Regions from separate parts of the Homo sapiens genome. Here region 2 is linked to region 1. The links are contacts of gene promoters, found by promoter capture Hi-C in blood cells and fetal thymus (Javierre and others, 2016). All regions are on one chromosome and are shown on one strand. Each heading gives the region's core, a stretch centred on a gene start or on the middle of the fragment in contact. The rest is flanking DNA. Distances are from core to core; before and after follow the strand shown. Region 1 holds the start of BHLHE23 (basic helix-loop-helix family member e23). Region 2 holds the start of LAMA5 (laminin subunit alpha 5).

Region 1 (5,515 bases), core at 2,422-4,921:
CCTGCACATCTCTACCTAGAAGGAATCTAAAGGTGAGCATCTTAGCCAGACGTGGTGGCTCAGCCTATAATCCCAGCACTTGGGAGGCCGAGGCAGGCAGATCACTTGAGGTTAGGAGTTCAAGACCAGCCTGGCCAACATGATGAAGCCCCATCTCTACAAAAAAATACAAAAATTAGCCAGGCGTGGTGGCGCACATCTGTAGTCCCACCTACTAGGGAGGCTGAGGCAGAAGAATCGCTTAAATCCGGAAGGCAGAGGCTGCAGTGAGCCAAGCCAAGATGGTGCCACTGCACTCCAGCCTCCGTGATGGAGCGAGACTCTGTCTTAAAAAACAAAACAAAACAAAACAACACAGTGAGCGTCTTGAAAAGCTCAGCTGGAAGCAAAGCTCTTTCGTGTTTGGTTCCTCCCTGAGTGTTGGGGGAAGGGTGGCTCCTGGTGGGTGGTGACGGTGAAGTTCTTTCCCGGTGATCCCCAGCCATTCTCAACACACCTGCAGGAGCACAGCCGTCAGAGAAAAGACGAGCAGCCCCCCACGTTTCTCGGGAGCCACGGGCTTGCACAGGCACCCACGTGGGTTCTGCTTTGCTGTTTGCCAGATGTGGGCACACAGGCCGTGGAGGGCTGTCTTGGAATGAGAAGATCCTTGGGCAAATCTGAGAAAGGCCAGATGACACTGTGATTGCCCAGGTGGCTTCGCGAGCAGCCACTGCAGAGAAGGCGAGCTAATTCTCCGAAACACTCCACTCCACTCAGGCCAAGTGAGAAGCATGCAGACGTTTGTAGAACAGTAGACACACAGCTTTGTCATGTACAAAAAAGTTTAAATGTAACTTGAATTTTTATTTAAATTAAGTAATCGGAAGAATTTTTGATTAGTGAAGTGGTTTTTTCAAAAACTTATTCTCCACCCAAAGAGAGAAAGAGAGATTTTTTTCCTCTGCCCTTTTCCTTATGATTTCACACATGTGCTATAATAAGTGGTTGCTTTTAGATGAGTTTTAGCATCTCAGAGACTCTTCAGACTCTGGTTTCGAGTGGACACAAGTATCTGAAAATTGAAATTATTGTGAATTCAGCTACAAATGAACACTATTTCACTTGATATTAAAATTTAACCATATTATTTTTATAAAATAAATGGCAATAAAATGCTTTATTCTGAATATAAATGATGTACCAATGTCTCTGATTTTAACCAGAATAAACACCCCTGTTTCAAATTCTGATAAGCAGGTAATTTATTTAAGATCACGTTGAAATGACCCTAGAAGTGAAGGGCATTTGAGTTTCCAGCTTTCCCACTTTATCTAAAAGGGGAAAAACGGTGTCTGGCACTCAGCTTTTCGAATGTGCAAAACTGATAAACTAGTCTGTTAGGGGAAAAAAAAAAGACAATGAAGAAATAAAAGTGGAAATTAGCAGAAACCAGTATTAGGCATATGTCTTTATGAATAAGACTTAACCATACACTTGATTTTGCAAGTACAGAAGGCCCTGTGGAATGTATTAATCAGAGTTAAACGCTGTAGACAGGCGCGTTGCAGGGCGGCGGCCCTCTCCCCTTGGCATTACCGACAGCCGAGGAAATTGGGTTAATAAAGCCGGATACTGCGGCGGGGCCGCGGGGCGCAAACCGGCGCGGACAGATGGGTCCCCGGGGGCACCCTGCCCGGCTCCCTGGATCCCGGATGGTGGCAGAGCTGGGAGCTGCGCAGGACGGGCACTGCGCAGCGCATCTCCGTTCACACCCGGCGGGGCACGGGGCCCGCAGCAGCTTACTCACCCGTAGCCCGGCCTCCTCCCTCGGAAGGGAGAGGGGATCGGTGGGGAGGGGGTTTGCTGGACACCAGGGCTAGACGGGGCCCTCCCCTGACCGTCAGGGTTAAGTAGGGCGCGGGCTGTGAGGACCCTCCTCCACGCAGCCCCCCGAGGCAGAGGGCCCGCAAAGCGGTCTCCATCCAACTCCACCCCGCGGACGTCCCAGGCAGCGGATGGCGGCGGGGGGGGGAGGCCAGGGGACATTTAGGGGACAAATTCCTCAGACTTCGAGGCAGCCGGCGACGGCGTCCAATTCCCAAATAAATAGAACAAACTCCTACTTGGAAAAGGCCTTCCCCGGGGTCTTCCTGCGCCCGCGGTCCAGCTCCTCTGCAGACGGCCATCGTGGGCTCTCCGCAGGGCTGCGGAGTCTCGGAGTCACCGAGGTGGGAGGTGCCGGCCACGCGCGTCCTCAGGAACAGAGCACTGCCCTGCAGTTTAGCACGAAGGGCCGGCTGGAGCGGGAGCGCGAGGCCCACTGCAAGAGGATCAGGAGCCAGTAAGTCCGGCTTTTCTTCGTCTCCACCTTTCGTGCGCCCGGGGCCAGGACCGCCTGTCCGGAATCTGACCAGTGCCCGTCCTCGCCGTGGCCCTGGGACCCCGCGGTGGTCTTCTTTTGGGGACGAACGGCAGTGCCCGAAGGATGCTCTACCCACCCCCGTTCCTAGACTTGCTGGGTCCCGACAATACCCAGTGGGTGCCGCGAGTTCCCGGGCGCAGAGTCCAGCGTCCGGCTCTCGAGCTCAATCCCGCGCCCCGACGGCCTTGGCGCTTCCCGCTGCGCTAAACTGTCCACCGCGCACAGGCTGGAAGCGAAGTCGGGCCCCCTCCTCCTGGTCTGCAGGGTCCCTCCAGGCCTTTCCTGTCCGGGCAGAGAGACAGTCACAGGGGCGATCGGAGGACGCGTGCGGGAGGGCCGGGGGCCCGCGCGGTCACGGCTTCTCGTGACAGTGTTTGCAAAGCGCGGAGGGCGTCCCGGAGAAGGCGGCGCACTTGTCAGGGCAGGGCCCCAGGGCGGCGCCTGCGGAGAAGGGGCACACAGTGGCCTGGCCGAAGGGCGTCAAGGGCGCGGCGTTTACGGGCGCGGCCAGGCCCTGGCCCTGGTTGAGGAAGGCCACCAGGCGCCGCATCTCGTCCAGGGCCTGCGCCTGCATGAGGATATAGTTCTTGGCGAGCAGCAGCGTGGCGATCTTGGAGAGCTTGCGCACCGACGGGCTGTGCGCGTAGGGGATGACGGCTCGCAGCCCGTCCAGCGCGTCGTTTAGGTCGTGCATGCGCCGCCGCTCGCGCGCGTTGATGCTGAGCCGCAGAGACCGCTGCTCTCGCGGCCGCCGCCGCCCGTCCGCCGCGCTCCCTGGCCCGCGCCGCCGCCGCCGCTGCTCGAAGGCGTCGTCCTCGTCCCCGCTCTGTTCGCCGCTGCTCTCCGCCGCCTGAGCTGGGGCGCGAGGTGCAGGCGCCGCGGGGAGGTCGCCGCCCGGGCCCGGAGTGCCGTAGCCGCGGGCCGCTTCGGGTTCTCGCGCCGCCCCGTAGGCGAGACCCGCAGCCGCCGCCGCGTAGCCGTGGCTTAGTGCCAGGTACGCGTCCCCCGACAGCGACTTGAGCTCGGCCATGGCCGCGCCGCCTGGGCTCGGGGGCTCGCCGGGTGGGCGGATGCTCATGTGGGTGAGCAGCCCCCGAGGCCGGCCCGAGCCCGCCGCTGCCGCTGCCGCTGCGATGAGGCTCCCGGCTCTGCGCGTCGGTCTGGCTTGCCTGCGGGTCCCAGAGCCTCGGCGCCCGCTGCCTCCTCCGCCTCTTCCTTCTCTCCCACCTCCTCTCCCTCCCAGCCGCGACGCGCAGGGGGCGGGCTCTACCTCCCCCTCGCCCCCGCTTCGGTTTTAAGCCGCGGAGGCGCCCGGTGGGACCTCGCTGCTGTCCAATCAGGGGGGACCGGGTGAGCTCCTCTTCCTGGAGCCGGGCTCCACCAGCGCCGCAGGCTCACAGGCCGGGGGTGGGGGCTCTGGACCGAGGGGCGGCGCGGGGCGGCGCGGGGCGGCGCGCGCGGTCCTGGAGCGCTAGTACTTGCTTCTCGACTCCCCGGCCGCCGCCTCCGGCCGCCCCGGGGATTCCGCCACCAAACGCACGCGTCCCAGGTGGGCACCCGCCTCGGTCCGTCTTTGAGTCTGACCCTAGCGCAAGAGTCCCTGGCGACACGCAGGGGCCAGAGCGGGGGGGCGCGCCGCAATAGCAGCAGCGCCAGCGCCAACACCCTGTCCCGCTGAGGGGCCGCTTCGGGTCGGGGTCAGGGTCGTGGGCGCTCTGGTGCAGCCGCGGCGCAGCGTGTACCCGGAGCCCGCACACTCCCTGCTCGGGGCGCCCTGTGGCCAGGCTTGAGGGGCAGAGTGAGAGGGAGTTTCTAGAACCTGTTGAAAAACGCCACGAGCGTTGCAGGCCGGGGAGGGCGGGAAGGTGGAGGGCAGCGCGGCCTGGGGCTCCCCGGGGGTGGGAGGGGAGCTCTGTGAGCTGCAGGACCGCCTCTTCCCTGCCAGCCGCTTCCTGGGCATCTATCAGCGAAACGCGTGAGGCTTGGTGGGCTTTCCCGGAGCCTCCGAACCCCTGGGGTCCAGCCACACTGGATGGGAATGTGGCCAGCCTCGGACTCGCCTTTTCAGTCCTCTTCCAACCCCGCATGAAGGCCAGAACCCCAGCCCTTCTCCCAGGTGGGAACCTGCCTGGAGGCCCGGCCGAGTGCTGAGGCTAGAGTGTGCTGAGGGATAGTGGCTTCTCCGGTCCTGGCTTGGGTGGGAGACTGGGCCACCCTGGCCTATGGCACGAGGTGGAGCGGCCCGTCGGGCCCTTCTGTGTGACCTGGGAAGGGCCGCATACCCTCCCTGTTCTCCAGGCTCCGCCCCAGGAGGAGCCACAGCGATGGGGCAGTGTGCGCAGCCCCGGGAGGGGAGTGGGAGCTGCACGTGTGTGGGGCGGATGTGCTGTCTGGAAGGTTCTGGGAACGCAGCAGTGACCGGCCTGTCCGGTGGTTCCCTGCCAGGTGCGGGGTGTGAGGAGACAGATGCATGGATAAGTCTCCGTGGGAAACTCAGGCCTTTGTCCTGGCGGAGGGGAATGGGTCTGAGGCAGCCTCTGCCGGGCTGGCGGCCTGTCTGGCTGCGCGTCCTGCAGCACCGGCCTCACCCCCAGCACACGCCCGCCAGGAGCGCAGGGGCCCCGAGGATGGAAGCGTCTGTCTGAGGCGCTGTCCTGGGACCCCACCCCGCCTTCGGGGCTGATGCACAGACCGGGAATTGAGGATACCTGGTGTGGAGGAGGCCGCTGTGTTTGGGCCTGGGTCTGAAGGGTGAGTGGGTGTCATTGTGGCCACGGGCCGGGGTCGGGGGAGCATTCAGGTGGCCGGAGGAGGCCTGGCACAGGGAAGGGCAGTGAGGGGCCCGGGTGGGGCCAGGAGATAGAGGGGCGGGACCAGGCCTGTGGGACAGTTTGAATCACGCGGGGAGTTTGGTCTTTATGGGAAGAAAGGCGCCGTGGCCATTCGGAGAGCCACTCTGGCACTGCTGCCGGTGCGGTCCGGGGCTGCGGGGCCTCCTCCTGGGCCTGAACTGCAGGGCTGGTGGGGGCCATGGGGGAAGGTGGCTCCACAGGTCCCCGGAGCTGGGGGAGCAGGAGGATGGGGTTGACCAGGAGGGAAAGCTATGGAGCT
Region 2 (5,515 bases), core at 1,503-4,002, 640 kb before region 1:
TGCGGAGGGTCCCGTGAGAACAGAGCTAGGAAACAGCAGAAGGGCCGATAAGGACTTCCCCTTCCAATGAGTCACCATGCTGGCCTGGCTGCCCAGTCCCCACCTTCCCAGGCTGGGCCGGCCAGGGATCCCCTGATGCCCACCTGGGGCTGTGAGGGCCACAACCTCCCCCTGCCCTCTGCCTGCTCCAGCTGCCCAGCAGGGTTCACCCCGACCCCCATCTGGGATGCCCAGCTAATGTGCATCTCCTACAGAGGGTCCCTGAGAGCCCCTGGCCTGCAGCCTTGAGAACACACTGCCCAGCCCCAGGCCCCATAGCCTTAGTGAGCCCCCTCAGATGGAGCTGCGGCTTCATCGCCTGGGCACCTCCTGTGCCTGCCTGCCTTGCCCCAACCGCAGCTCCACTCCAGACCGGCCGGCAAGGACTTCTCACACGCCCAATCCGCGGCCAGGGCGGTCAGCAGACCCGCGGCTCTCAGATGAAGGAGGCATCCAAGGTCATACCCGTCCAGCTCACGTCTACCAGCTGATCTTTCTACATATCTGGCAGCCTCAGCGGGCACTCACTGCTCAGAGCTCGAGACTTTGGAAGCGAAGGGTTCACCTCTATTGCTAGACATGAGCTGGGCGAGGCCGGCTGGTTTCTCATCCAAGCTGGCTCTGAGGCATGGAGCACCACAGCCCACAGCTGCCACTGAAACTGTGGCCACTTCCCAGGCTCCTCGGGCCAAGCTCACAGTCTCAGGTGAGGGGGGCCAGCACGCTGTGCCCATTTTAAAGACAGCTTGAGGCTGACAGAGGGAAGCCACACAGCTGAGGCAGAGGAGAGGGGCGTTGACTACAGGCTGGCCCTTTACTCACGAGACGGGGGTAATAAGCCCCCACAGAGGAGACAGATCTGAGAGGGGGCCTGTGGCCCCCAGCCACGCAGCATGGGCAGGCTGTGGGGGGGTGGTCTGAGGTTCACAGGGCACCTGGAGCCTCCCCTGCCAGAACGGCAAAATCTCAGCTGGGGACACTCAGCCAGGCCCTCTGTGGTGAGGTGTGGCAGCAGGTAAGGAGACAGTCACAGGCCCTCCGTCCTGAGACCCGGCCCCTCTGAGTTGACCAGATAAGGGGGCAGCCAGGAGGCACCCAGGTTCCCACAGCTAACCCCCGCTGGACCCTGTTCTGGCTGGGGGGCTCCAAGCAGGTGTCAGCAGCTTTCCAGGGCTCAGATCCCCCATCTGAAGTGTGGGCTTGAGACCTCCTATCTCAGAGGACTGTGCTGGGCTTAAGGAGAGAACGGTGAGCCCAGAAGCCTGGGGAGGCTCCTTCCCCCTCCACCAGGGCCAAGGGGGTGGGGCAGGCAGAGGGGGCGGGCCCAGCCCAGGCTCCTCCATTCATCCCCATAACGTCTTGCTCCAGGGCCCTCTGCCCCCACCCAGCAAATCTCCAGCTACTCGCCCCTGCCCCAGCCTCTCCTTCCGGGAAGGCAGAGGTACCAGGGAGGAGACAGCTCAGGTTACACAGGCCCTCAGGGCCCCTAGACTCTCCCTAAGGTGGGGCTGAGGTGGGGAATGGGCCTAGAGCGGCCGGTTGGGAGCCGTTGGAGCTGACTTTGCTGCTCCTCACCCAAGGCTGACCCCAGGCCCAACCTAAGTCTACAGGGCCCCAAGAGCCTTGGTTTTCAGGTGAGGTGTCCATGCATGGAGTCCACCAACAGAACCCGCCTACAGGTTTAAGGCTTGTTGGGGAGGGGACATGCACCCCAGGGGGTCTTCAGGGCCTGAACCCACATCTCCCAGGGAGACTGAAGCCCCCGGACCCTACCACCTGCTGGGCAGAGATGCTGCCCCTCCTGGGAGCCACGTGTTCCCAGCCCCAGTCAAAACTTCGCAGCTGGCCCTCCCCTACTTTGGAGGTCTCCTCGAGTCCCTAGACTCCTCCGAGAGGGGCTAGTGGGAGCCTCAGGTGGCTGGCCCCTCCCACCCCATCCAGAGGCCAACAGGTTCCAGCCTGTCCCGGGTAGGGCGGAGCTGCGCCCCCTCCCCACCGGCAGCAGGCGGCGGAGGCCAAGTCCCGCCCTCCCCGGGATCCCGGACTTGGGGCCGCCAGGGACTGGGCCCGGCCCCCCTCCCGCCCCGGTCACCGCAGTCGAACTGGACCGGCGCCCAGCCGCCCCCGGGTCCATGCCGGGGACTTTAATTCCGCCTTCCCGGAGGGACGCGAAGTTTCCCGGCCGAGACGGAGCGGCCGGGTCGGGGTGCCTTCTTGGGCCCCCAAAATGCGGAACCAGAGAGTCCGCACCTGGACTCGCCCCGGGCCACGGCGCTCCCCCTGGGGTCGGGCCGGTGTTCCGGGTCCGAGTGCCCCGGGAGGAAGCCCCACGGCCCGCCCCTGCGCTCACCCGGATGGTCTGGTTGGGGTCGCCGCCGGCCACGGGGCCCCCTACCAGCTTGCAGTAAAGGTCCTCGGTGGGGCGCGGGGAGCCGCGCGCCGGGGCCTCCTCTCCGCAGGTCGCGGAGGCGGCGATGCGGGCGCCCTCGGCCAGGTTGAAGTAGGGCGGGTGCAGGCTGAAGCCGCCGCCCGCCTCCTCCCGCGCCCGCGCCGCGCCCAGCAGCGCCAGCCCGACCAGCAGCAGCGGCGCGGGGCCCCGGGGGCCGCGAACACACAGTGCGCTCCCCGCGCAGAGCCGCTTCGCCATCTTCCCGGCTCCGGGCCGCGTCCCCGAGCTCCAGGGACAGCGCGCGCGGCGGGAGCCCGGCGGGTCTGAAGCCAGGCGGCCGGCAGGGCTCGCTCCGCCCGCGGACGTCAGGCCCCGCCCCGGCCCGCCCGAGCGCCCGAGCCCCGAGCCCCGGGGAGAGGTCCGGGGAGGCGGGGTGGGGGGGGGAAGGAGAGAGGAGGGGGAGGGGCGGCCGGGCGGCCTTAACCCTTCGGACCCCGGCCCGGCCGCCTCCCGGAAGGGGCACCTGCTGGCCTCGGGCCAGGCCGTGGGACGACGGCGCCGCCGGGCCCCCAGCCCAGGTCGTAGCTCCGGGTCCCGGGTGGGACCCTAGCGCTCCCCACGACGCCCTGGCCCCCAGAGCGCCCACCAGCTCCTCCCAGCCCAGGGGCCCACTCTTTGTTCCCCTAACTTGGGTGCACCACTCGGCTGCCCCCGCTCCTCCCCCAACAGCGTCCGTCCTGCTGGCTGCGGGAAGGTGCCCTCTGCACCCGCGAATGACCATCTGCAGAGGAACGGGGCAGCCTAGGTGGGAACCCCCTGCTTCCTGGGGCAGCCAGGTCAGGTTCAACTCGGCCTGGCTCCCGCCTGCCCCAGCAGGGCTTAAAAATACTCTCAGATAGGGAAATAGGGGCAGGAGGGACTGGCCTGCAGCTGCAGCCCCCTTTAGAGGACGGGGGCGGTGCTCATGGCCCCACAGCCGCCAAATTGGCTCTTAAGGAGGTCGGGGGCTCTGGTCACAGCTGCTGAGCACCTGCTGGGTGCCTGGAAGCACCTGTGCTCCGGGGCCCGGTGGACTCCACCAGCTCTCTCGGCCTGGCCTCCAACCCGCTGCACAGCCGCGCACGCGTTCCTGCCACGATCGGCGGCTCGAGGACGCCTGGCAAACAGCACAGGACCTAGAGGCCGAGATCAGGTCTTCGTCTGCCTTTGGGTGGCTGCGGCCCTGGGTCTCCTACTTCCCTTGGGCTCCGGGGCCAAATCTGCCTCCAGGGAAGCCCCGAGGGGGTGGCGGCGGGGTGGGGCTGCAGCTGCCGAGCTGGCAGCAAACCCCCATCCCTGAGCCAGGCCAGCTGGGCGGGCCATGGTCCCAGATGGGCTGTGGGGCTCATCTCTCGCTGGGTTCCCTGGACAGTCCCGGGGGGCTGGGTGGGTTTGTGGGGCACTGGCCAGCCGGTTCTGGTGGGGGTTCTGAGCTAGCAGCTGTCCCTGGAGGGTGCACCTCCTTGCACACCTTCCTGGCGCCCTGGCCTCCTGCAAATCTCAAATCCCAAGAGGGTGTATGGCCCTTTCTCTACGGAGTCGGGAGGGCGATGGGACCCTCTCTCCCTCCTCCTACTTTCCGGCCCGGCAATTCTTCCATAACTTCACTATTAGTTCTCCCACCTGGGGGAGGGGGGAGAGGAGGCGGCTCCCCTTGGCAGGAGAAGCTCCAAGTGGGGGAGGGGCTGGCTGGAGAGGGGGCGGAGACATCAAGGAATCTGCAGTCCAGGCGCAGAGTCCGGCTCTGAGCTGCTTTAGATCCCGTGTGAGGCAGAGAGTGGCCTCTGGGCAGTAGCGGGTCCCCAGGTGGGGGCTTGGCCCCAGGCAGTGTGCTCTGGCTCTGGGCTCCCCCTTGACAGCTTGGGGCTCTGACAGCCTGGGGGACTGGAGGTGGAGACTCCTGAGACCCTGAGGGCTTCTTGGGATCCCTGGAGGGTCGGGTGGTTGGAGGGGTGGGATTGCGAGTGGCGGGGCAGGGGGAGAGGTGGGGGTGGGGAGAGCACTTTAAGCCTCCTAGCGGCCAGATCAGGCCAAGCTGCCAGGCCTCCGCTGTCCCCCGGCACTGGCCAGGAGGGGAGCGGGGGCCGGCCCTGAGAATGCGCTGTGTCAGCCGGAGCTGCCAGCACCAGCAGGGTTAATCACCGGGCTCACTGCTTCCCGGCAGACAGCTGCCCCGGGAGCAACTGGCAGGCAGGCGGGCAGCGCAGTGGACAAGAGAATGTGGCCCAGGGGCTGGGTAAAGAGCCCACACTCTGCCCCCACCCTGTGTCTGCTGGTGCACGGACTGGGAAGGAGGCAGCTGGGGCAGGAGCTGAGCGTATGGAGGGCGGGGGGGCTGTCCCAGCCGGGCTACACACAGGGGGTTGGGGAGGTGAGCAGGGAGAGGGGCAGCTCATCTCTGCACACCCCCACCCCTGCTGTCTTTGTCATGGTTCCAGTGAGTCATCACCAAATGGACCAGCGAGCCTGTCTCCTTGTCTTTCTGAGTCCTGCGCAGCCCAGCCACCTCTTCTATTTACAAATGGGGAAACTGAGGCCAAAAAGGCCAGGGTCAATCAAGAGCACACAAGTTAGTAAAGCAAGAGGAAGTTTGTCCATCATTCATTTCTTACTCCTATTTACTGGGCATCTTTCGGGCACCCGCCCGTGACGTAGTCCTCCTCCCTGCAACAGGTCAGACGGCACCCCACCCCCAAACACGTCCTGTCCTGAATCCACAGGAGGGAGCTGCCCAGTCTGGGAGTGGAGGGGAGGGTAAAAGGAGGTGGCTCGCCAGGGGAGGGCCGTGGAGGAGCCTCTGTCCCACCAGGCTCTGGCTGCCCTCCAGGGACAATCCAAGATCCAGAGCCCCTGCCCACCCAGCTCCAGGGTGATGGAGCCCCAGAGGAGGTGGGTCGGGGGCAGGGGTCAGTGGCAGCCCGAGAGAAGTAGGGGCACTCCTGGCCCTGGGGAAGGGGTCTCAGATCCTCCCCCAGCCCTGGGACAAGGTCTGCTGCGGAGCCCTGGGGGCAGCCACCTCACCTGAGCCCCCAGTGCTACTCCAGTGGC

What was found. Contacts are between HindIII fragments. The CHiCAGO score rates a contact against its expected background, and 5 or more counts as called.
Region 2: a contact is called between the fragment with the promoter of LAMA5 here and the fragment with the promoter of BHLHE23 in region 1, in 4 of 17 cell types (non-activated CD4 T cells, monocytes, M0 macrophages and 1 more). The highest score is 5.7, in non-activated CD4 T cells.

The regions. Positions count from the first base shown.
Region 1 is chr20:63,003,293-63,008,807 of GRCh38, forward strand. It overlaps BHLHE23 (basic helix-loop-helix family member e23), which reads right to left and starts at 3,672. Exons shown (of 1, transcript NM_080606.4): 1 at 2,635-3,672. The coding sequence starts at 3,482. The coding sequence ends at 2,757. RefSeq lists enhancers at 553-1,066, 3,391-4,096, 4,097-4,804. The HindIII fragment of the contact is 10,733 bases long and covers 1-5,515 here.
Region 2 is chr20:62,364,560-62,370,074 of GRCh38, forward strand. LAMA5 (laminin subunit alpha 5) reads right to left here and starts at 2,753. Exons shown (of 80, transcript NM_005560.6): 1 at 2,390-2,753. The coding sequence starts at 2,686. RefSeq lists enhancers at 1-159, 160-859, 1,558-2,257, 4,356-5,055 and silencers at 1-108, 2,437-2,876. The HindIII fragment of the contact is 18,996 bases long and covers 1-5,515 here.